4 separate regions of the Homo sapiens genome follow, and all the other regions are linked to region 2. The links are contacts of gene promoters, found by promoter capture Hi-C in blood cells and fetal thymus (Javierre and others, 2016). All regions are on one chromosome and are shown on one strand. The core of a region is centred on a gene start or on the middle of the fragment in contact, and the rest is flanking DNA. Distances in the headings are between cores, read along the strand shown.

Region 1 (5,822 bases), core at 197-2,696, 730 kb after region 2:
TCAATTCAGCAAGAGGATATACCAATTGTAAATATATATGCACCCAACAATGGAGCACCCAGATATATAAAGAAAATATTATTAGTGCTAAAGAGAGAGATAGGCCCCAATACAATAATAGCTGAAGATCTCAACAACCCACTTTCAGTATTGGACAGATCATCCAGACAGAAAATAAACAAAGAAATATCAAACTTAATCTGCACTATAGACTAAATGCACCTAATAGATATATTTACAGAACATTTCATCCAACAGCTACAGAATGCACTTTCTTCTTAGCACATGCATCATTCTCAAGGACGTGCCATATATTAGGCAAAAAAACAAGTCGTTAAAAACTCACAAAAATTGAAATCTTTCACCTGATCTTTGCCTGGTATTTACAAAAAAGAAAAGAAAATTGAAATAAAATGAAGTATATTCTCTGCTCACCATGGAATAAAACTAGAAATCAATTACAAGAGAAACTTCGGAAACTATATGAAAACATGACAATTAAACAGTATGCTCCTGAATGACCAGTGGATCAATGAAGAAATTAAGAAGAAAATTGAAAAATTTCTTGAAACAAATGAAAATGAGAACACAACATATTAAAATCTATCAGGTATAGCAAAGGCAGTACTAAGAGGAAAGTTTATAGCAAATAAGTCCCTACATCCAAAAAGTAGAAAAACTTCAAATAAATAACCTAATAATACATCTTAAAGAACTAGAAAAGAAAGAGCAAATCAAACCTAAAATTTATAGAAAAAAAGAAATAATAAAGATCGGAGAAGAAATAAATGAAATTGATAGCAAAAGAATAATACAAAAGACCAATAAAATGCAAAGTTGGTGTTTTGAAAAGATAAGTGAAATTGAAAAACCTTTAGCAAAACTAACTTAAATAAGAGAGAAGACCCAAATAAATAAAATCAGAAATAAAAGAGAAGACATTACAACTGATAGCACAGAAATTCAAAGAATCATTGGAGGCTATTATGAACAACTATATGCCAATAAACTGGAAAACCTAAAAGAAATGGATAAATTTCTGGGCACATACAACCTACTGATTGAACCATGAAGAAATCCAAAATCTGAATAGGCCAGTGACAAGTAATGAGATTGAAGCCATAATAAAAAGTCTCCTAGCAAAGAAAATCTCAGGACTCAATGGCTTAACTACTGAATTTTACTAAACATTTAAAGAAGAACTAACACCAATCCTACTCAAACTATACCAAAAAAAAAAAAAAAGTGAAGAGGAGGGACTATTTCCAAACCCATTCTACAAGGCCAGTATTACTGTGATACCAAAATCAGACAAAGACACAAGAAAAAAGAAAACATCAGGCCACTATCTCTGATGAACATAGATAAAAATTTCTCAAGAAAATTCTAGCTAACCAAATACAACAACATATTTAAAAGATCATTATCATGGCCAAGTGGGATTCATCCCAGAAATGCAAAGATGGTCCAAGATATGCAAATCAATTAACATGATATGTCATATAAACAGAATATGATCATTTAAATTATCATTATCAAATAATAATATCATTTCAATTGATGCTGAAAAAACATTCAGTAAAATTCAATATCCATTCATGATAAACACTCTAAAAAAATGGGCAGTGACGGAACATATCTTAACACAATAAAAGCCATATATGACAGACCCACAGCTAGTATCATACTAAACAGGCAAAAACTGAAAGCCTTTCCTCTGAGATCTGGAACAAGACAAGGATGCCCACTCTCACCATTGTTATTCAACATAGTACTGGAAGTCCTAGTTAGAGCAATCAGACAAGAGAAAGAAATAAAGGGGATCCAAATTGGAAAGGAAGAAGTGACATTATCCTTACTTGTAGATGATATGATCTTATATTTGGAAAAAACTTAAAGACTTCACAAAAAAGTATTAGAATTGATAAATAAATTCAGTAAATTTGCAGGATACAAAATCAACATACAAAAATCAGTAGCATTTCTTTATGCCAACAGTGAAAAATCTGAAAAAAGAAATCAAGAAAGTAATCCCATTCATAATAGCTACAAATGAAATAAAATATCTAGCAATTAACCAAAGAAGTGGAACATTTCTACAATGAAAACTATAAAACATTAATGCAAGAAACTGAAGAGGACACCGAAAAATGGAAAGATATTTCATGTTCATGTATTAGAATAATCAATAGTGTTCAATTGTCCATACTACCCAAAGCAATCTGTAGATTCAGTCAATCCCTATCAAAATACAAATGACATTGTTCACAGAAATAGAAAAGATAATCCTAAAATTCATAATAACCACTAAAGACCCAGAATAGCCAAAGCTATCTTGAGCAAAAACAATAAAACTGGAGGAATAGCATTATCTGACATCAAATGATACTACAAAGCTATAGTAGCCAAAACAGTATGGTAGTGGCATAAAAACAGACAAATAGACCAATAGAACAGAAAGCACAGAAATAAATCCACGCATCTACAGTGAGCTCTTTTGACAAAGATGCCAAGAACATTCATTGGAAAAAGGACAGTCTTCAATAAAAGGTACTGGAAAAATTGGATGTCCACATGCAAGAGAATGAAACTCTCGCCATATACAAAAATCAAATTAAATGGATTAAAGACTTAAATCTAAGACTTTAAACTATGAAGCTACTAAAAGGAAACATTGGGGAAACTCTACAGGACATTGATCTGGGCAAAGATTTCTTTAGTAATACCTCAAAAGCACAGGCAACCAAAGCAAAAAAGGGACAAATGGGATTACATCAAGTAAAAAGGCTTCTGCACAGCAAAGGAAACAATCAACAAGGTGAAGAGACAACTCACGGAATGGGAGAAAATATTTTCAAACTACCGATTTGACAGGGGATTAATAACTAGAATAAATAAGGAATTCAAACAACTCAATAAATAATTTGATTTAAAAATGGGCAAAAGATCTAAACAGACATTTGTCAAAGGAAGACATAAAAATGGCAGACAGGTATATTATAAAATGCTCAACACCATTAATAATTAGGGAAATGCAAATCAGAACCACAATAAGATATCATCTCACCCCAGTTAGAATGGTTATCAAAAACTAATAACAAATGCTAGTGAGGATATGGAGAAAGAAGAAGCCTCATACACTGTTGGTGGAATGTAAATTAGTATAGCCACCATGGAGAACAGTATGGAGTTTCCTCAAAACACTAAAAAAAGAGCTACCGTATGATGCAGCAATCCCACTGCTAGATTTATATCCAAAAGAGAGGAAATCAGTATATCGAAGAGACACCTACACTCCCATGTTTATTGCAGCTCTATTCACAATAACCAAGATTTACAATCAACCTAAGTGTTCATCAGTCAATGAACAGATAAAGAAAATGTGGCACATATTACAAAATAGAATATTATTCAGCCATAAAAAATAATGAAATCCTGTCATTTCATGTCAGTTTCATGGATGGAAATGGAGGACATTATGTTAAGTGAAACAAGCCTGGCACAGAAAGACAAATTTCACATATTCTCACTCATTTGTGAGAACTAACAATTAAAACAATTGAACTCATGAAGCTATAGAGCAGAATGATCATTACCAGAGGCTGGGCAGGGTAACATGGGGGTGAGGGGAAATGGAGTGGGGATGATTAATGTGTACAAAAAATACATAGATAGAATGAATAAGATCTATTATTTGATAGTATAACAGGGTGACTAAAGTCATTAATAATTTACCGTGTATTTAAAAATAACCAAAAGAATAGAATTTGAATGTCCCTAACACAAGGAAATGATAAATACTTGAGGTGATGGATATTCCATTTACTCTGATGTGTTTCTTACATATTGTATGCCTGTATCAGAACATCACATGTACCCCATTAATATATACAGCTATTATATTCCCATAGTAATTAAAAATTAAAAATATACATACACACTCATGGAAGCATTTTATTGTATGTAAATTATACCTCAATAAAGTTATTTTTTACTTAAAAAGTTAACATTTTTTACATTTCTGACTACATTTTGACACTGTTGGTGTAATAAAAAAGAAGCAATGAATATGAAGCATTGAATAAAAAGAGCTACCATCTGTGCTCAGCATTTGAAAAAGATTTTTTCACTTAATTTTTCCATAAAACCAATGGCTTGACTTTATTTCTAGTCTCACTTGAGGGATGAGAAAAGTTGACATTATAATAAGCAGTGTGGTTGGCTTGGAAAGTCAGATCCATCGATCTCCAAAGTAGTCCATGCTCTCAGCACTACATCATGATTTTTCCCAAAGTAGGAAGACATTGTACCCTCAATATGCCAACAAAGAGGAAAATAAGTCGGTTTGTCACCTGGGCAGAGCAGGAACAAAATAAATCATCAAGAAGCTTTTCAGGGACCACTAATGTCAATAGACCATCAAGTCTGAACTGATGGAGCAGCAAATGTAATTATTGCACCAGGAAAATTCCAGTTTAAGATACTGCTTAATCTCAAAGGTACAAAGGTCCTTGTTATTATTCTCATTTAGAAGGAGAATTAACTTGCAAAGAAGGGCAGGCATTTTCAAAGAATAAAAACTATATACCAACTTTCCTCTCCCACTTATCTTGTTTACTAGAATGGTTATGTTCCCAGCTCATCATGTTTTACAGGTGAATTCTTTCAAAATTTGAGGGACAGATAGTATCATATGAAGCAAATGGATCCAGCACCAGAAAGAACATAAGTAAGAAATGGAAAACAACCTCATGAATTCTAGAAAAGCAAATATAGCCTTAATACCAAAACTTCACAAAGATAGTACAAAAACATTTTTTTGGAAAGGCTAAGGGACAGGGAAGAAAAGGGAAGAGGAAGGAAAGAAAAGAGTGGAAGGAGACTTAGAAAAATTTCATTTAAGAGTATAAGAGTGAAATTACAAATAAAATGTTAGCAAATATAATTCAACAAAATATCATCTATGGTAACCAAATAAAATTAAGCAGAGAAAACAAGAATGGCCCAGTAATGAGAAACTTATGAACACAATATGCTGTGACGGAAAAAGCCAAACAAGAAGATCCATAATTCACCATTTAATCATTTGCCCCAACTTGTCATTCATTTTTTTATCCTAATATATGAATACATAGAAGTTACTGAAATACTTTCTTTGAATAAGGAAGAATATCAATTTATACTAAAGATGAAATATACATTTATAACATCAATAAATAAAACTCCCCAGCTGCCAAAAAGGCATTTAATAAAATTAACCTCCATGCCTGATTTCATTACTAGCTTTAAAATAGGACAAAAAGGAGAAAAGACTTTGAAGTGAAACAGACCTAGGTCAAATAAAAACACCACCACTAACCTCATGTATACATAGCCCAGTGCTTGGCACATAATAAACACCCAATAAACGAAAAGTAATTTCTATATCAACCAACCAGCCAGCTTCATGCTTAATAAATTCTATAGGCATAATATTAAAATTAGGCACAAAATAAGGAAGCTTTCTATTACCAATATTTAGTATTATATATATGAAACAAAAGTCATGAATGCAGTAAAGGAAAAGACAAAATTATCATTATTTGCAGATGAGTGGCTACCTTGAATATCCAAATAGAGAATTCCAATAACTAGTAAAACTAAAAAAAAAGTTTTAAAAAATGGCTACATAGAACATAATTTTTTAATTTTTATTTATTTATTTATTTATTTATTTATTTATTTATTTTTGAGACGGAGTCTCGTTCTGTCGCCCAGGCTGGAGTGCAGTGGAGCGATCTCGGCTCACTGCAAGCTCTGCCTCCCGGGTTCACGCCATTCTC
Region 2 (5,298 bases), core at 2,292-4,791:
GAAAGATATTGGTAGTCCAGGCTAATTTGTACTTTCTCTGGGTTAAACTAATTTTCTAAGCAGGGTTTCCTAATAAAGTTTGAATCAACTGAATGATTTCCAGACATAGGCATATCCTGAAATGAAATAATAAATATAAACCTAAGAAAAAATGATTGTTGAAGACAAATTTAAAAATTTAGTGGATAGTAATATTGATTTAATAGGCCAAAAAATAATCTGACACCAATCTTTTTGATAATCATTTTTAATATTCATACCTAAAGAAAAACAAAGCAAAAAGCAGTTTAATATTAAATTTCTACATGAATTCATAAATAAAAAAGAAATTTCACTCTCCTCTCTTCATTTCCATGTACCCAGAAAGTAGGTGAACACCTAACTGCAAATCACTTGTCCCTTCATTAGTCCACCTCTAAGACAGGGTGTAAATGCATGAAGCGATAGTACAACAAAATAAAGCAGTTATGACAGACCTAAAGAAACTCATAAATCATTCTGTTCAACTCCCCACAGTCGTTTTATAGACACTGCAGGCATAGAGAAAAAATAAATCACTGATTAGGGCTCCAGATCAACCAGAACCCAAGTCTCCTTATTTCCAAGGCAGAAATATGCCACAGCACTAGGCTATAACATCTGTCACTTTAGGATAAGCAAAGGTTGCATGGATCTTTTTTGTAGTTTTAACTGGAGAATCAAAAAGGACAACTATAGGTCTGAAAAAGTGAGGGGGGTGGGCTGGCAATACCTGAATTCAACTACTACTAATAAAAATCCCATAAATCTTAAACAGCATTTTTAACAGTGCAATTGGCCTCTTTAAGAAGTCACAAAATGTTTTCACAGCTTTTTCATTTATTATGTGTGGCATCAGAATCAAGTTTCCCAATCCCTGCTTCAAGGATTCTAGATTCTTCTCCCAAGCAAAGAAAAAGACATTCCATTCACCCATCTCCTTTCCAAGGAGGTGCTCTCCTGGGGCTATCCCAATGTTCCTCCCAAGTCCAATTCTTCCAGGTACTCTGCGGATATTGACAAAGCTGATCCCAACACTCCTGAGTCATACTAGGGATCCCAGCTCCTCCCCTTCAATTTTCTTACCATGTCTTTTTCCTTAGAAAGGTGTATTGAATTGTTTTTATATAGTCTATTGTACTCTATTAACTAGTAGTTAATTTTAGGTTCTAAGAATAAAATGTTATATAAGAACTATGTGTTATTATAATACTTTGATTTAGTTATACATATAAATACATATGTATATATGTACATATATGTGTATATATACACACACACACACACACATATAAATAATCTATTAGATGCTAAGCTGTAGGGGGTTAGCGGGAGACAATACATGGGAATGCTTTCTGGTGATTCTCTTCTCCAAAAGACAGTATGATTCCCAGGTATTAGATGTGTTAGTATCAGATAAAATATCCAGTGGAGCACATAAAATGAAGCAAGACTGAAAATGCACCATAGGAGAAATAAATTCTAAGAATGTAACACTTCGTTAGACAACTGGAAAGTACAAGGCCAATATGCTTAGTAGTTAGAAATGTTGCCCACCTCCAAGAAAACAAAGGATTGACCCGACATGCAGTGGAAGAATGCCAACAAGAAACTTGTTAATCAGTGGCTGATCTCATCTTCACCAGAAAATCTGCTTGAGAGGCATAATATAACGCTGTTTGTAAACCCTGATATCTGTCAAAAGTGCCCTAAGGTCCTCCTCTCTAGCTCCACCACTGCCCCTCACTTAAAAAAATAAAATTACCTTTAATGATAGGGTTTAACAAGCTGCCTTCTTTTTTTCTGTTATGAAAACCTCAACAGCAAATAATTTTTATTTCTTTTTATTAAAGAAAGCAACTCTATATTTGTTCTAAATCTCATGGGACCAGTTATTTTCACCCAAACGGCCAACCAGGTATATACGCTGCTTAACTGTAAACCTCCTTGTTTCTTAGCAGAGGCTTATCGCCATGGTCCAACTATGTTTTAAATTAAGGCATAGCCATCACATGCCAAGCTCTAGCTACTGTTTTCACGAGGAAAGGGCAATTATTCACCCCATCTGAGTGTGACTGTGCCAGACATCATTCAAGAGTGCACCACCCTGATCCCTAGACTCTTCCCCTTTATGCACCCAGTTCAGAGACCCTCCCTTCGGCCATTAGACCATCTGAGCTAAATATAGATCTACACACACCAGCAGTTCCTGACCGTCGTCACATGGTGCTGACGAAGGACTCCTTGGAGACGCGTTCGGCCCAAACACATACACAAATTTGTGTGCATATTCATCTATATACACCATATCCACCGAATTCATCAGGGAGGATGGACACATCTACATTCCGAAGAGAAAATCGCCGTCTAGACAATCTCCTTGTGTTATCTGCCACACTTGTGCCACCCTCGGCAGTGTCAGAGGATTAAGCTACGTTGCTTTTGCCTGAACTGCGCCGATTTGGTTGGGGCAAGACAGCAAGCAGTATTGAAATGGTACGTCCATACACACACACAAAGGCGCGCGCACCCCAGCCCCCGTCTCGCCCTTTTCCCTGGTGCAGCACTTAAGTTGTTTTCACAGCTCCCTTAGAAAGAACCTCCCTTAAGCTGACTGCCCGCGAGGCTCCTAGATACCTCTAGCTCATCTGAGATTCCCCAGGCAGGTGACCCGAGGCGACTCAACTGAGCTCTGGCAAAAGCAAGGCGACTCAGTGTCTCCCAAGTTTGCCAGGTGAACACCGAAGGATGACAGCACATCACCTTGTCGGTGGCGAGTATGTGACTTCTGTTCCCTTGTCCCTTCCTACGAGTCAGACTTTAGATTACATGGCACTGACAACAAAAATAAACAGCTCCCCCTACACACACACGCACACAAAACTGGTCAAGAAGTGGAAGAATCAACCTAGGTATGCACACGAAGGAAAGAAGGGATGAAAAAAATGATGGACGCGATTACAACTCAAGACAAATCCTCAAAAACCACCTATCTCGAGACAGAAGGCCTGGCTGCAGGATCAGGGAGAAAGAGGGAAGGCACAACCCAACCCAACCCAAGCCTGGCCCTGCCCGGGTCCCAGCGGCTCGGCCTCGCACCTGTTGGGGCCGCGGCAGTCCCAGGTACCCGCAGCGGCCGGGCAGGGGCCCTCCCCCGGTCCCGGGCTGTAACTCGGCTCTTGGCGCCCGCGTTCGCGCTCACTCGCCTCGGGATCTCCCGCCGCCTCGGAGCGCACCCGGCAGCCGGTGAAGTCTCTGAGCCCCGCTCGCTCCCCGCGCGGCCCAGGGATCTCCAGGGAGAGCGCAGCGCGCAGTAGGGTCCGGAGTTCCCGCTCCGGGCTGTGGTCCCCCAGCCGGGAGAACAACCCAGCCAGGGAACAACCTACCTGCAGGTGAACTCCGAGTCCTCGGCCTCCCGGCTGCGTGCCGCGCGCCCACAAATGCGACCAAAGGACAGGGAGCTAAAGCGCGCGGGAAGAAGAAAAACAAAATCTGTCTAACCAGTCGGGTTCCTTGTTTATACTGAAACTACGGCAGCCGCCGCCGCGCACGCCCCCCTTGGCTCAGGCGCCTGCCTCCCGCTGCCAGCCCCGCCCCGCCCCGGCAGGCGCGGGCCAATCACCGCGCAGCTCACCGCCCACGCCGCCGCCACCCGGCCCGGCAGGCAAGTCCCAGTGGGCCCCAGACTCCCGCAGCGCGTCAGCCTGGGTGCCCTCCCACGCGGCAGAGGCCCGCGGAGCCCAGCGCAGCGGTGTTTAACAGCGTTGGTCAGGCTGGCTCCGACTGTGCGCGTTTCCTCTTGAGTGCACCTGCCCCGGGCTGTTGTGCAGTCGTGAGTGTGTGTGTGTTCATTCACGTGTATACTATCTGTAAATACCGGCCCGACTCGTTACACAGTATTTATTAACATAATTGTGAGCTAAAGGTTACTGTCCATGTAACTTTCAGAAGAGAGCGGAGAGGAACCACAGAACATTTGCTTAGCAAATAACACATAGATCCTGGTGCTAAGCACTGTGCAAAACGCTGGGGGCACACTTGGCAAAGTAGGCTGGTCTCTGCCATTGTGAAACTTACATAGTCTAGTGGAGGACAGACATTCAGCAAATAATCACCCAAACAAAATGTAGAATTACAGCTGCTAGAAGTTGCACGGAGAGGAACCTGTTCCGTGAAACATGATTCCGGAGGCAAAGCAGGGAGGCTAGTCCTCAGTGAGGGCTGTGTTGTCATGGTAACCACGTACTCACTCCATCATGGGATATTTGATAACTATTTCAGAAAAAAGGTAAAAACCTCCGTACTTCACTTTGTACACATAAAAGGAGGCCAGAGGGAAATAATGATGGAAACAAGGGAAGAAAGAGACCTATGAAAAGAAAAAATTTACAGAATTAGGAGACTCTTACCAACTGTATTTCCTTGAGTAAGTGATACAGCTTTTCTGAGCTTCAGTTTTCTCATATATAAAACAACACTATTCATACCTGTCCTATACTGTTATAATTAAGATTACTGAGGGGGAGGAATCCTTTTCCCTCCTGCTCCATGGGTCCCTCCCCCTCTCCTTCCTGGGGTGGAGTCATTTTGACGCTCACTTTGTCTATTCTTAGCGGATTCCTCTTTCATTTTCTTCATTTATGCCTCCTTTTACTTTTCTTCCTCTTTATGATACTCCTTCCCTCCTTTGTGTAAATAGGACTCCTCTGATTCAGTAATTCACTCTAACCTACTTGAGCCTTTGACTTAACCATAGCTTCTCTGCAGTTTAAATGAGAAGCCATAAGGCCAAGGGAACTTGGTGGGCCAGCCATGCAGAGTGAAACACAGAGGCTGGGTGGCCCTGCCCTGCTGTTGTGGTTGTACTGGTTGGTTGATTTTTCAAGCTCAGTTTTTGCATCCCGATTCTGTAACAAACGAGCCATATGACATTGGGCCAGTCACTTACACCCTTGACATTACTGATCCTGTAGCCAGAAATTAAGAGTTGCAGGGGATTGCTGGCAAGATGGCTGAATAGGAACAGCTCCAGTCTGCAGCTCGTAGCGAGATTCACACAGAAAGCATGTGACTTCTGCATTTCCAACTGAGGTACCCAGTTCATCTCACTGGGACTGGTTGGACAGTGGGTGCAGCCCACGGGGAGTGAGCTGAAGCACGGTGGGGCATCGCCTCACCCGAGAAGTGCAAGGGGTTGGGGAATTTTCTCCTCTACCCAAGGGAAACCATGAGGGACTGAGCCTGAGGAACTCCAGCACAGATACTGTGCTTGTGCCAGTT
Region 3 (5,424 bases), core at 2,558-5,057, 580 kb after region 2:
GCAACTAATTCACTGTGAATTTAAGGGATAAAAGAGGAAGGAAAGATGTTAAACTAAATTCATTTGAATACATCATCTCAGTGCTTCTCAAACTTTTTCTATCTGGTTTTAACTTCTGCATTCTAACCTACAAAATATTCAGGTTCGTTATAAAACAAAAAGACCTACCCCCATGACTAAAACTAATGCTCCAAGTATGTTATTTTTATTCTGTGTTTTCCAGAACCCTGCCACACCACCAGCTAACCCCCAGCAGTGAAATCAAGAAATGTGGCAGCAAGGTACCCCCGGGCTATACTAAAAAGGAAAGAGAACTAATATGTAACGAGTACCTATGAATGTCTCAGTCACCATGTCACTAGGGTGAACATGGGCTCTGGGGGCAGACTACCTCCATTTAAATCCCGTTTCTGATACTGCTATGAATTGAACATTTTCATCCCCTCCAAATTTCATGTTGAAATGTAATCCCCAATGCAACAGTATTGGAGGTGTGGCCTTTGGGAAGTGATTGATTTATGGGGGCTCCACCCTCATGAATGAGATTGGTGTCCTTATAAAATGGCTTGATGAAGGGAGTTCTCCCCTCTTGTCCTGTCTTCTGCCATGTAAGGATGCAGCAGCATTTTTCCCCTCCAGAGGATATAGCATTCAAGGTACCAGCTTGGAAGCAGACAGCAGTCTTCATTAGATGCCAGCCTTGATCTTGTACTTCCCAGCCTCTAGAAATGTAAGAAATAAATGTCTGTTTTTATAAATTACTCAATCTGTGGTATTCTGTTATAGCAGCACAAAATTGCCTAAGACATAATGTGAAAGAAAAGTGACTTTGCTTCTCTGTACTTCAGTTTTCTCATCTGCAAAATGGGTTTAATAATAAAGGTACCTACCACATATGGTATATATTAGTTTTGTATTGCTATCATAACAAATTACCACAATTTAGCAGCTTAGAACAATGCCCATTTATTGTCTCATAGTTCTGTAGATTAGAAGTCTGGTGGGTTCATGTGGGTTCTGTGCCTGGAGTCTCACAAGGCTAAAACCAACCAGGCTGGCCTCTTACCTAGAGTTTCTGGGAAGAAGCCACTTCCAAACTCTTTCAGGTTGTTGGGAGAATCTAGCTCCTTGAAGCTGTAAGTCTGAGGTCCTTGTTTTCTTGCTGACTGTCAGCCAGAAGCCACTCTCTGCTTCTAGAGGCTTCCTGGACTCCTTATGCGGCCTCCTTCATCTTCAAGGAGAAACTGCATTGAATCCTTCTCATGCTTCAAATCTGACTTCCTCTTTTGCCAACAGCCAGAGAAAATGTTTACCACTTAAAGGTCTCATATGATTACATTGGGCCCACTTGGATAATCTTTCTATTCTAAGGTCAGCTCATTAGTCACCTTAGTTACATCTTCAAAGTTGCTTTTGCCATGTACTATAATCACAGAAGTAATTCCAGGGTGAAGATCATAAGAGCTACGTAGACTCCTGCTTACCGCATGATTATTTTGAGGAATAAGTAAAGGTGTGTATTTAAAACATTTAGAACGGTATTTTATTTTGTGGTACCAATAATAAGAACTCAATAAAGATTAGCTATTTTGTCTACACATGGCATTTCATTTGATTGACACTACAACTCTATTATTTTAAAGGGGAGAAACTGAGAATCCAAGACCACACAGAGGGTTAATGGCAGAGCCAGGAATCAAACCTAGAACAGCCATCAATCAAGTCTGTGCTGAGCACTAGGAGATAGGGCAAAGGACGGATAATGTTCATTTGAGAAAGAGGGACTTGAGAAGGGGTGTGCAATAATGAGGAGCATGGGGAATATTTACAGGTAGTCACTTGCCGTATATGAATAATCTATGGTTTAGGCACAAGGGAAACTGTACTAAATACTAATTGAATTTTTTTAAGTCTTTAGGCTGACTCTGGGCACGCTGCCTAGGAGTTAGCCCTGCTCTGCAAGGAGCAGCTATTAAATATGTATGTATGAAATATATATATTTAACTGAACCTGGTGATTTTTACTGAGCAGATGCATTTTCTTGTGGTGACAGTCATCTTAAGAGGCTATACATTACTTGCAATCTAGACTCATTCCTTTGATGGTTTCTTTCTCCCCATGCCCTCTCCTCTGTGATGTCTTGCATCTTGTAGAGGAAATAAACATGTCTGAAAGCAGCAACCCACTGAACAGCAAGAGCATTGCCCAGACTTTCTCCAGGGCATGCCCAGGCCTGAATCACTACCATGTCTATTTCTTCCTGTCATTGGTAGAGCAAGGACAGAGACCCAGGACAAAAAAGAAAAGAAAGGAAAGCAAACCAAAAAATAATCTTATCATCTATGGTCTTTCCCCACTTAGGACTGTGACTGCAGTATCATTTACTGGAAGCGTTGTTCATACTTTTTTACCCAGTATTTCCATTTGTAGAATTTATCCTAAGAAAATAATCAGAGAATCGCTCAAACATTTTTGCATTTACAATTGTGTCTTGTCTGTAAGGGCAAGTGAGTGTCTTTTCTACTGACACAGTAACCACCATGGTTCAAAGGCTAGGACTGAACTCAGGCTGCCTGGGCTTGAATTCTGGCTCTGCCAATTGCCAGTTGAGTGATCTTGGGCAAGTCACTTCAATTCTCTAAGCTTCCATTTCCTCATCTGGAAAACAAGGATAATAATACCTCATAAGAACTTAATTAGGTAATATTATTATACTCACTTATTAGAATGATTCATATAATTATTATATGAATACTAATAGAGGACCTGGTCCATACTACATAATAGTAATACGTTAACTCTGACTAGGGTGATGATTAATGATATATCCTCAGCTCATGGCCCAAAGCCTGGCACACAATACTCAATAAAAATTGTTTAAATACATGGACAAACAGATGGACAAACAAATGAACAGGGATACTTGTTACAGCATGATAAAGCTAAAATTTGTAAACCATAAAAACAACAGGAGAGTGGCTTAATATACCATGGTACATATAATCAAAACCTAGTATGTTTTAAAAGAATAATTAATGACCTAGAAAATGCCTGTAGGTAATGTTAGTAGGGGGCAGCATACAGTATATGTAGCATATTCTAAATTTATAAAATACTTACATGGTACGCATACATTAGGACCAAAATGGAAGGAAATACACCAAAAGGCAATAATAGTTCTCTGTAAGTGATGAAATTATGGATTATTTTTATTTTCTTCTTTATATATTCCTTAATTTTCTAGATTCTCTGCAGTAAACGTGAGTGTAATACCAATTTAAATACTTTTTACAATTCCATAATTAAGAACTTAGACTTTTTTTAGTCATCATGTTAATCTTAATTGATTTAAGATCTTATCACTTTAATAAAACATTTAGGATGGACCAATTAACACAACTAAATCTACTGCACTGACACTCTCTTGAAGAAATCTCTGGTGCTTGTGAAAAGGTTCTACAAAACATCATCCAAAATTTGATTTTAAAGACACTCACCATTGCTGCTAAGAGCCAATAGTTATCAACAATAGCCTTAATAACTAGAAATGGGAAAGTCTTAAGAGGCAAGTGAAATCTATGTTTAAAACATACTTATTTTCTCATCTCATTTAGTTTACAAGAGAATGTAGAAGTTGAAGAATCAACCTTTGGAAATTGTCATTTGCCCAGAATGATTAATTCTGGGTAATTTATGCCTGCCAAGTAATAAAGAACACTGCTTTCATTTACCCGGCTTCCTTTGTGGGTCTTAGAGGGAGATCCCATGTTAGTTATTGTAAACTCAGTACTTCAGTATGGTCAGGAAATAGAGCAGTCTGATTAACCAACTATTCTGACTAATTATCATCTCTGCAACATATGAATTACCACTTTCCAAAAAATTAGGCTGTCATAAATTGCAATTAACATTGAAGGTCTACCAAAGGTAGATGATTCAGAAGGCACCTCAGTGTCTCTCAGGGTGTCAGGTTCACCACTATAAAAATCATGTATCCCAGTAGGATGGATGAGGAAAGATGTTGGTTAATAGGAATTTTCAGTTGAGAGAAATGCAAGCAAGCCAGGTTTTACTATGTTTACAAGGTTGAATGAATGTCTGTTGAGCTCTTTAAGCACCTCCTGAGAAAGGCACTCTATTTGTGTGAGATGTTATAATTATTATTCCACAGAAATACAATGGTAACATTCTATTTTACAACAAAGAAAATTAGATTACAAGTTATCCTACAATTCTCCCTCCTCCCAGCTAAGATCACACACCGTATAGAGTTACAATGGTGCCAATTACAACAGCTTTTCATGCATTGTATGTTGCTCTGGTTTTTGATGATCTGAATGGATTTCATACCTAATAGCAGCTACTGACAGCAATCAAAACAATTTGGGGGAAAACAGTTTTGTCTTCTGTGTTCAAGTAATGCTATTGATTTAAATTTAATGTTTGCTTCATTTCTTTCTTGGTACAGTAAGCAAGCATGTGGTGTCTGTCTGGGCCCCCATTCTGCCTAAGAATGTGGGTGGCAAAGCCTATGTATACCAGGCCTTTTCTATCACTAGTTGCTAGAAGCCAATATCCATTAAAAAGAGAGTGTTTTTAAGATCATTTCATCAAATGCCCACTACATACACATTCATTCATTCTCACTCTCTCTCTCTCTCTCTCTGTCTCATATCCCAGTTTACAGTTGAAGAATCAGAGGCACAGAGAAGTTAAGTTTTTTGACCAAGTTTACACAGCTACTATATTGGTCGAGCTGGGGCCAGATTCTAAATCTCCTGATAGATAGCACATGCTCTTTCCATTGAGTCATTGCCCCAGCACCATGCTGGACTGAGACTTTGACTGAAAAATGAACTTTTCTCTGAACAAGGTGAAAAAAAAAGAGAAAAGAAGGAAGGGAAAGACCAATGAAGGAAGGGAAAAGAACTCAGCATCATGGATTCAGGGTACCACTCCCACATCACAGCCAAGCTTACTCCTTTTATATAACAATTTGAGGTCCTGGCACAGTAAGCCACCTAAGTTTCCTTAGTTGAAACACTATAATAGGACTCCCTGGGAGAATCTTTGCAGTATATCTTGAAACTGATGACCAGAGCTTCTTTAATGAGCAAACAGATAGACCTAACCTTTCCACCCCTGCTCTGGCTGTCCTGGATGGGAAGGAGACATTCTCTAATATGGAAAAGATCCAAGATGCAGGTCAGTCTAATCAGCTAATGGTCAGCACCAAAGGAGGTTAGGCTGTTTAAGGAGTTAAGTCATTCAGTGTGATGCCAGTTCCCTCCTAATCCAGCCCTGGAGGAAACTTGTATTATGACTCACAGGAGAGGCACAGCCTGGAGAAAATGAGCCCAAAGAAACTGAAGAACACTGAAAACTTACAATATTACTGATGTGATAATAGACTAAGAGAATAA
Region 4 (5,257 bases), core at 2,371-4,870, 650 kb after region 2:
TAAGTCAGGGCAAACAGAAGTAACTCAAAGGAAGGGAAATGAATAGCCAACAAAATATGTGACTGAAATATCAGAAACAAAGCGAATTCACACAGGAACACAGCAAATCAAATATCGCATGTTCTCATTTATAAATTATAAACATTGAGTATACTTGGACGTGAAGATGGCAACAATAAACACTGGGGACTACTAGAGCAGAGAGGAAGGGAAGGGAGGCGAGGATTGAAAGACTAACTATTGGGTACTATGCTCAGTGCCTGGGTGACGGGATCAAGTGTACCCCAAACCTCAGCATCGTGCAATATATACCCAGGTAACAAACCTGCATATGTACCCCCTGAATCTAAAATAAAAGCTGAAATTATTAAAAAGAGAAATATTAGAAACAATCTCCCAAGGAAAATTATGCAAGAGCTATGACTCAAAAATGGAAAACCGAGGGACTTAATGTCTACTTAGCCTATTTTCTGAAATAATTCTGATTTTTCAATAATTTCTGCATTAGTCTCTCATTGACTTCTGCTTCTAGGAGCCTGGTGTAGCACTCTGGTTTGAAACTAGGCAAATCTGATCTATTTTGTGAACAATTTTTAATTGAAATATACATGTTAAGCTTTCCTCTATATTTGTATACACTGTCAGTAAGGAAATGAATTGGCACCATATTTTGAGAGCTCTTCCAAAGTTTTACATGCACATACTTTCTATTGCAAGAATTTACTTCAGAGATTTTATCCACAAATTTCTTGACGAATATACAATAAATATAAATACAATTGACCATTGAACAATGCAGTGGTTAGGGGTGCTGACTCTCCCATGCAAAAATTCATATATAACTTTTGGCTTGCCAAAAAACCTACTGTTGACCAGAGCCTTACTGAAACCATTAACAATTGATTAAAACATATTTTATATTTCACATGTATTATACACTATGTTTTTACAATAAATTAAGCTAGATAAAAGAAAATGTTATTAAGAAAATCGGCAGGGCACAGTGGCTCACGCCTGTAATCCCAACACTTTGGGATGCCAAGGTGGGCGGATCATCTGAGGTCAGGAGTTCGAGACCAGCCTGACCAACATGGTGAAACCTCATCTCTACTAAAAATACAAAATTAGCTGGGCGTGGTGGCACATACCTGTAATCCCAGCTACTCGGGAGGCTGAGACAAAAGAATCGCTAGAATCCGGGAGGCAGAGGTTGCAGTGAGCTGAGATCACACCATTGCACTCCAGCCTGGACAAAAAGAGTGAAACTCCCCTTCCGAAAAAAAAAAAAAAAAAAAAAAAAAAAAAAAAAAAACAGAAAGAAAATCATGAAAAAAGAAAATATATTTACTGTTTATTAAATGGAAGTGCATCATCATAATGGTCTTCATCCTCATCATCTTCATGTTGAGTAGGCTGAGGAAGGCGAGGAGGGGTTGGTCTTACTGTCTCACGGGTCGCAGAAGTGGAAGACAATCTACTTATAAGCAGACGCACAGAGTTCAAACCTGTGTTGTTCAAGAGTTAACTTTACAATAGGCTGGGCACAGTGGCTCACACCTATAATCCCAGCAGTTTGGGAGGCCAAGACAGGTGTATTGCCTGAGCTCAGGAATTTGAGACCAGCCTGGGCAACATGGTGAAACCCCATACCTACCAATAAATACAAAAATTAGCAGGGTGTGGTGGCATGTGCTTGTGGTCTCAGCTACTCAAAGGCCGAGGTGAGAGGATCTCTTGAGCCTAGGAGGCAGGGGTTGCAGTGAGTCGAGATCATGTCACTACGCTCCAACCTGGGTGACAGAGTGACACCTCATCCCAAAAAAAAAAAAAAAATAGAGTTAACTGTATAATAATCACATTGCAGCAGTTTTTCTTAGAACAAAAATACAGAACTAGGGCCAGGCGTGGTGGATGATGACTGTAATCCTAGCACTTTGGGAGGCCAAGATGGGAGGATCACTTGAGGTCAGGAATTCAAGACCAACCTGGCCAACATAGCAAGACCCCATCTCTTTAAAAAATAATAATAATAAAAGTTTAAAATCTGGAACCAATCAAATGAGCATCTAGAAACATCTAGTAAAATAAACTATGATATATTCATAGAGCATACTACTGTATACAGTAAAGACTAGTAGATTTTTATGTAGCGATGTAAAAAGAGGTCTAAAATTCAACATTAATTAACAAAATAATTAACTGCAGAATATTACATTCGGTATTATCTCATGTATCTATAGAGGAGGTGTTTTAAGGGATATTCTCTATTTTTGTGCATATGTAGAAACTTTCTAAAAGGATACAAAAGAAACTATTTGGTAGAGTTCTTACAGTGTGAGAAGGCCACTGGTGGCCTTCTTAATTTTTTACCAAAATTACATATTACTTTCATAAGTGAGAAACCTACATCTAGTTTATTTTTAACTTCCAAAAGACAAGAAGCAATTCTTTTATGGCATTTGTTCAGTAATTTTTAAACATTTCACACATGGCGTATTGTAGACTTTGGTTGCTGAGTTTGTATTTGCCTATATCATCCCTAATGACATAATCATCCCTAATTTTGTCATTATCTAGGTAGAACCTTCTTACAGAACTACAGGTTTTATGAAACTGAACGTTCTTATGCAATTCTTGGCAATTCTGTTTGGGCCTTTCTAAAATATATGAGCCCACTTAACCAGTATCTTGCCTTTTCTTGAGAGAGAGAAAGACCGAGAAGAAAAAGAAAGAGGGGGTGAGAGGGAGGGAGGGGAGAGAAAGATAGAAATACAGATAGAAAGATGGATGGATGGAAGGAAAGAGAAAGGAAAGGGCGAAGGAAGGAAGGCAGGCAGGCAGGCAGGCGAGAAGGAGGAAGGAATTTTTGATTAACTAAAAAATTTAAATTCTTTCAGAAATATAAAATGAAATTAAAAGGCAAACAGCAGTTTGAGAAAAATATTTCCAACATAAATAAGGGATAAGTGATTTTATCGTTAATTAATAAAGAGCTACTACAAATCATTTTTCAAAGAAGTCTAACAACCCAATAGAAAAATAGGCTAAAGGTATAATTTCATTAGGAGAATACATGTGAAAAGATAATAGCATTTAAAAAAAATCTTCATCCTCTCTAGTTATCAAAGAAAATCAAGTTAAAACAATTAAATACGTTTTAACTATCAGATTAGCAAAGCTTTTTTAAATATAAGACCCAATATTGGTAAGAGTTCAGAAAATCGGGAACTTTTATTCACAGATAGTGGGAGATTAAAAGTATCCTAATCTTCCTGGCAGTCAATTTATAAATACATATTTTAAAATCCTCTAAAAGTACATCATTTTAGATGCTAAAAATCTACTAGGAATTTATCCAAGGATATTGCTTATCGTAGGATGCATGTATCAGACCGTTTACATAATCATTGGTACTTAAAGTGAAAAATAAAAACTGCAACCAATTAGAATTCCAATAAAGGAGCACAGATTAAACAAATATATATTAGTTATATAAATATATAAAATATTATCTTTTTTCCCACTTTTGTATAATGGACATTGTCTTAGTCCATTTTGTGTTGCTATAACAGAATGCCAAAGACTGAGTAATTTGCAAAGAAAAGAAATTTATTTCTTACATTTCTGGAGGCTGAGAAGTCCAAGGTCGAGAGGCCTGCATCTGGTGAGGGCCTTCTTGCTGCATCATCCGAGGGCAGCAGATAGAGAGCAAGAGAGCAGGCTCAAGAGCCAGAGAGTGAGAGGGGGCCAAACTTGCCTTTATAATAAAGCCTCTCTCACAATAATTAACCCACTCCTGCAATAATGACATTAATTCATTCATGAGGGCAGAGCCCTCAGGACCTAAGCACTTATTAAAGGTCCCACTTCTCAACACTGTTGCATTGGGGACTGTTCCCAACACATGAACTTCGGGGGACACATTTCAACCATAGCAGGCTTATATTAATTGGGTAATTGGATATATTGTTGAATTTTTGCAGTAAAAATTAAAACTTTCCATTTTCCAGTGATAAAACTTCTTTCCAAAGAAGGCCTATGAGAGAGGGAATCTAATTAATGGAAGCTTCTGCTTTAGCATGATTCCTAAGAATTAAGGTTTTATTACAAATAAAAATACAATCAATAAGTCATGAATACCTGTCAAGCAAAACCAAATACAGAAACTGCAAATGCAGTGAAACTTCATAGCTCAGAGGTTTGGTAATGAGATGTGAAGACCTCCACTTCCAGCAAAATTCCGTGTGTCCACCCCTAGTTGGTAATTTGAAGAAAAAGCCACATCTGTGTAGTGACATAAATTTTACTTCAAATGGATCCTGTAAACTCGAAAGTTCTTAGATTTCATCAATAAAATTGCACTCCTGCAAGACTAGTAAGGTGGAAGAGACGAAGAAGACATTCTTTTTTCTTGTTCTGGAAGCACTGGCAGACAAATACGTGAGTTTCACAGGTATGTTTATGCAGTGGCGTCTTTGTTTCCTTCCCATTTCAGCCCCTCAGCACTGAAGAAAGCTGTGAGGCCACTGGCCACATTCCTGCAGGTTCTTGATTCTTAGCTGCAACAGCTCTCTGCTTTTCTGTGGCAGTAAACCCGAAACTAATGTCAGTCTCCTTGATTTTCACTCTTCCAGTCTTTCCCATGGTTTTGTAAGCACCTCAATACCTTTATTAAATCTCTCCATATTTAAAATGCCTACAGGGGTTTTGTTATCCTGACTGAACCCCACCTGATCCAGCCTGGTTACAACCTGAAAGACTAATGTCACATTTCTGCATTAATGGCAGCTATCACAGTCTTGAAATGAAAGGACATAAGTGATCTCGGAATTTTCTTTAAAATGCCTTTAGAGGTGCTTAAAAGGCTTCTTCATAACTCTGTAATTGATTTAGAAAGGACTTGGGAAAAAACTCACAGAAAAGAAAAATCGACACATAAACATGAACATAAGGGATATTTTCTTGAACATAATAGGATATTTCCATGAACATAATAGGATATTTTCTTAGGCATTCTTAACCTGGAAGCAAAATGGTTGTTTAGCTGGAAAAAACCCTTACAGACTCCCTCTAGAGAAGACCAACATCAAATCAAAGTCAATACAAGCATTCTGGGTTGGCTAAATTATCCATGCAGGAAAATGCTCCTAAAATACCAGTTTCCCTCTGATCTGCTAACTGTCATGTCTTTCCGCTACTTTATGGCTCTTTTCCAAAGGATTTGCACCTGCCCCAGTCACTTCAAATCCTACTTCCT

The links. The method cuts DNA at HindIII sites, captures the fragments that hold promoters and counts their contacts. A CHiCAGO score of 5 or more calls a contact.
Region 1: a fragment that was not itself captured here is called in contact with the fragment with the promoter of RASGEF1B in region 2 in 17 of 17 cell types (erythroblasts, megakaryocytes, total CD4 T cells and 14 more); the score reaches 18.6 in erythroblasts.
Region 3: a contact is called between a fragment that was not itself captured here and the fragment with the promoter of RASGEF1B in region 2, in 1 of 17 cell types (erythroblasts). The highest score is 6.4, in erythroblasts.
Region 4: a contact is called between a fragment that was not itself captured here and the fragment with the promoter of RASGEF1B in region 2, in 1 of 17 cell types (erythroblasts). The highest score is 5.4, in erythroblasts.

The regions. Positions count from the first base shown.
Region 1 is chr4:82,204,126-82,209,947 of GRCh38, forward strand. No RefSeq gene overlaps it. Among named protein-coding and RNA genes, the nearest start is that of HNRNPD, 170 kb to the right of the region's middle. The HindIII fragment of the contact is 5,880 bases long and covers 1-4,386 here.
Region 2 is chr4:81,468,366-81,473,663 of GRCh38, forward strand. It overlaps RASGEF1B (RasGEF domain family member 1B), which reads right to left and starts at 3,542. Exons shown (of 14, transcript NM_152545.3): 1 at 3,405-3,542. RefSeq lists a silencer at 3,474-3,883. The HindIII fragment of the contact is 14,883 bases long and covers 1-5,298 here.
Region 3 is chr4:82,045,723-82,051,146 of GRCh38, forward strand. No RefSeq gene overlaps it. Among named protein-coding and RNA genes, the nearest start is that of HNRNPD, 330 kb to the right of the region's middle. The HindIII fragment of the contact is 2,331 bases long and covers 2,643-4,973 here.
Region 4 is chr4:82,118,461-82,123,717 of GRCh38, forward strand. No RefSeq gene overlaps it. Among named protein-coding and RNA genes, the nearest start is that of HNRNPD, 250 kb to the right of the region's middle. The HindIII fragment of the contact is 888 bases long and covers 3,177-4,064 here.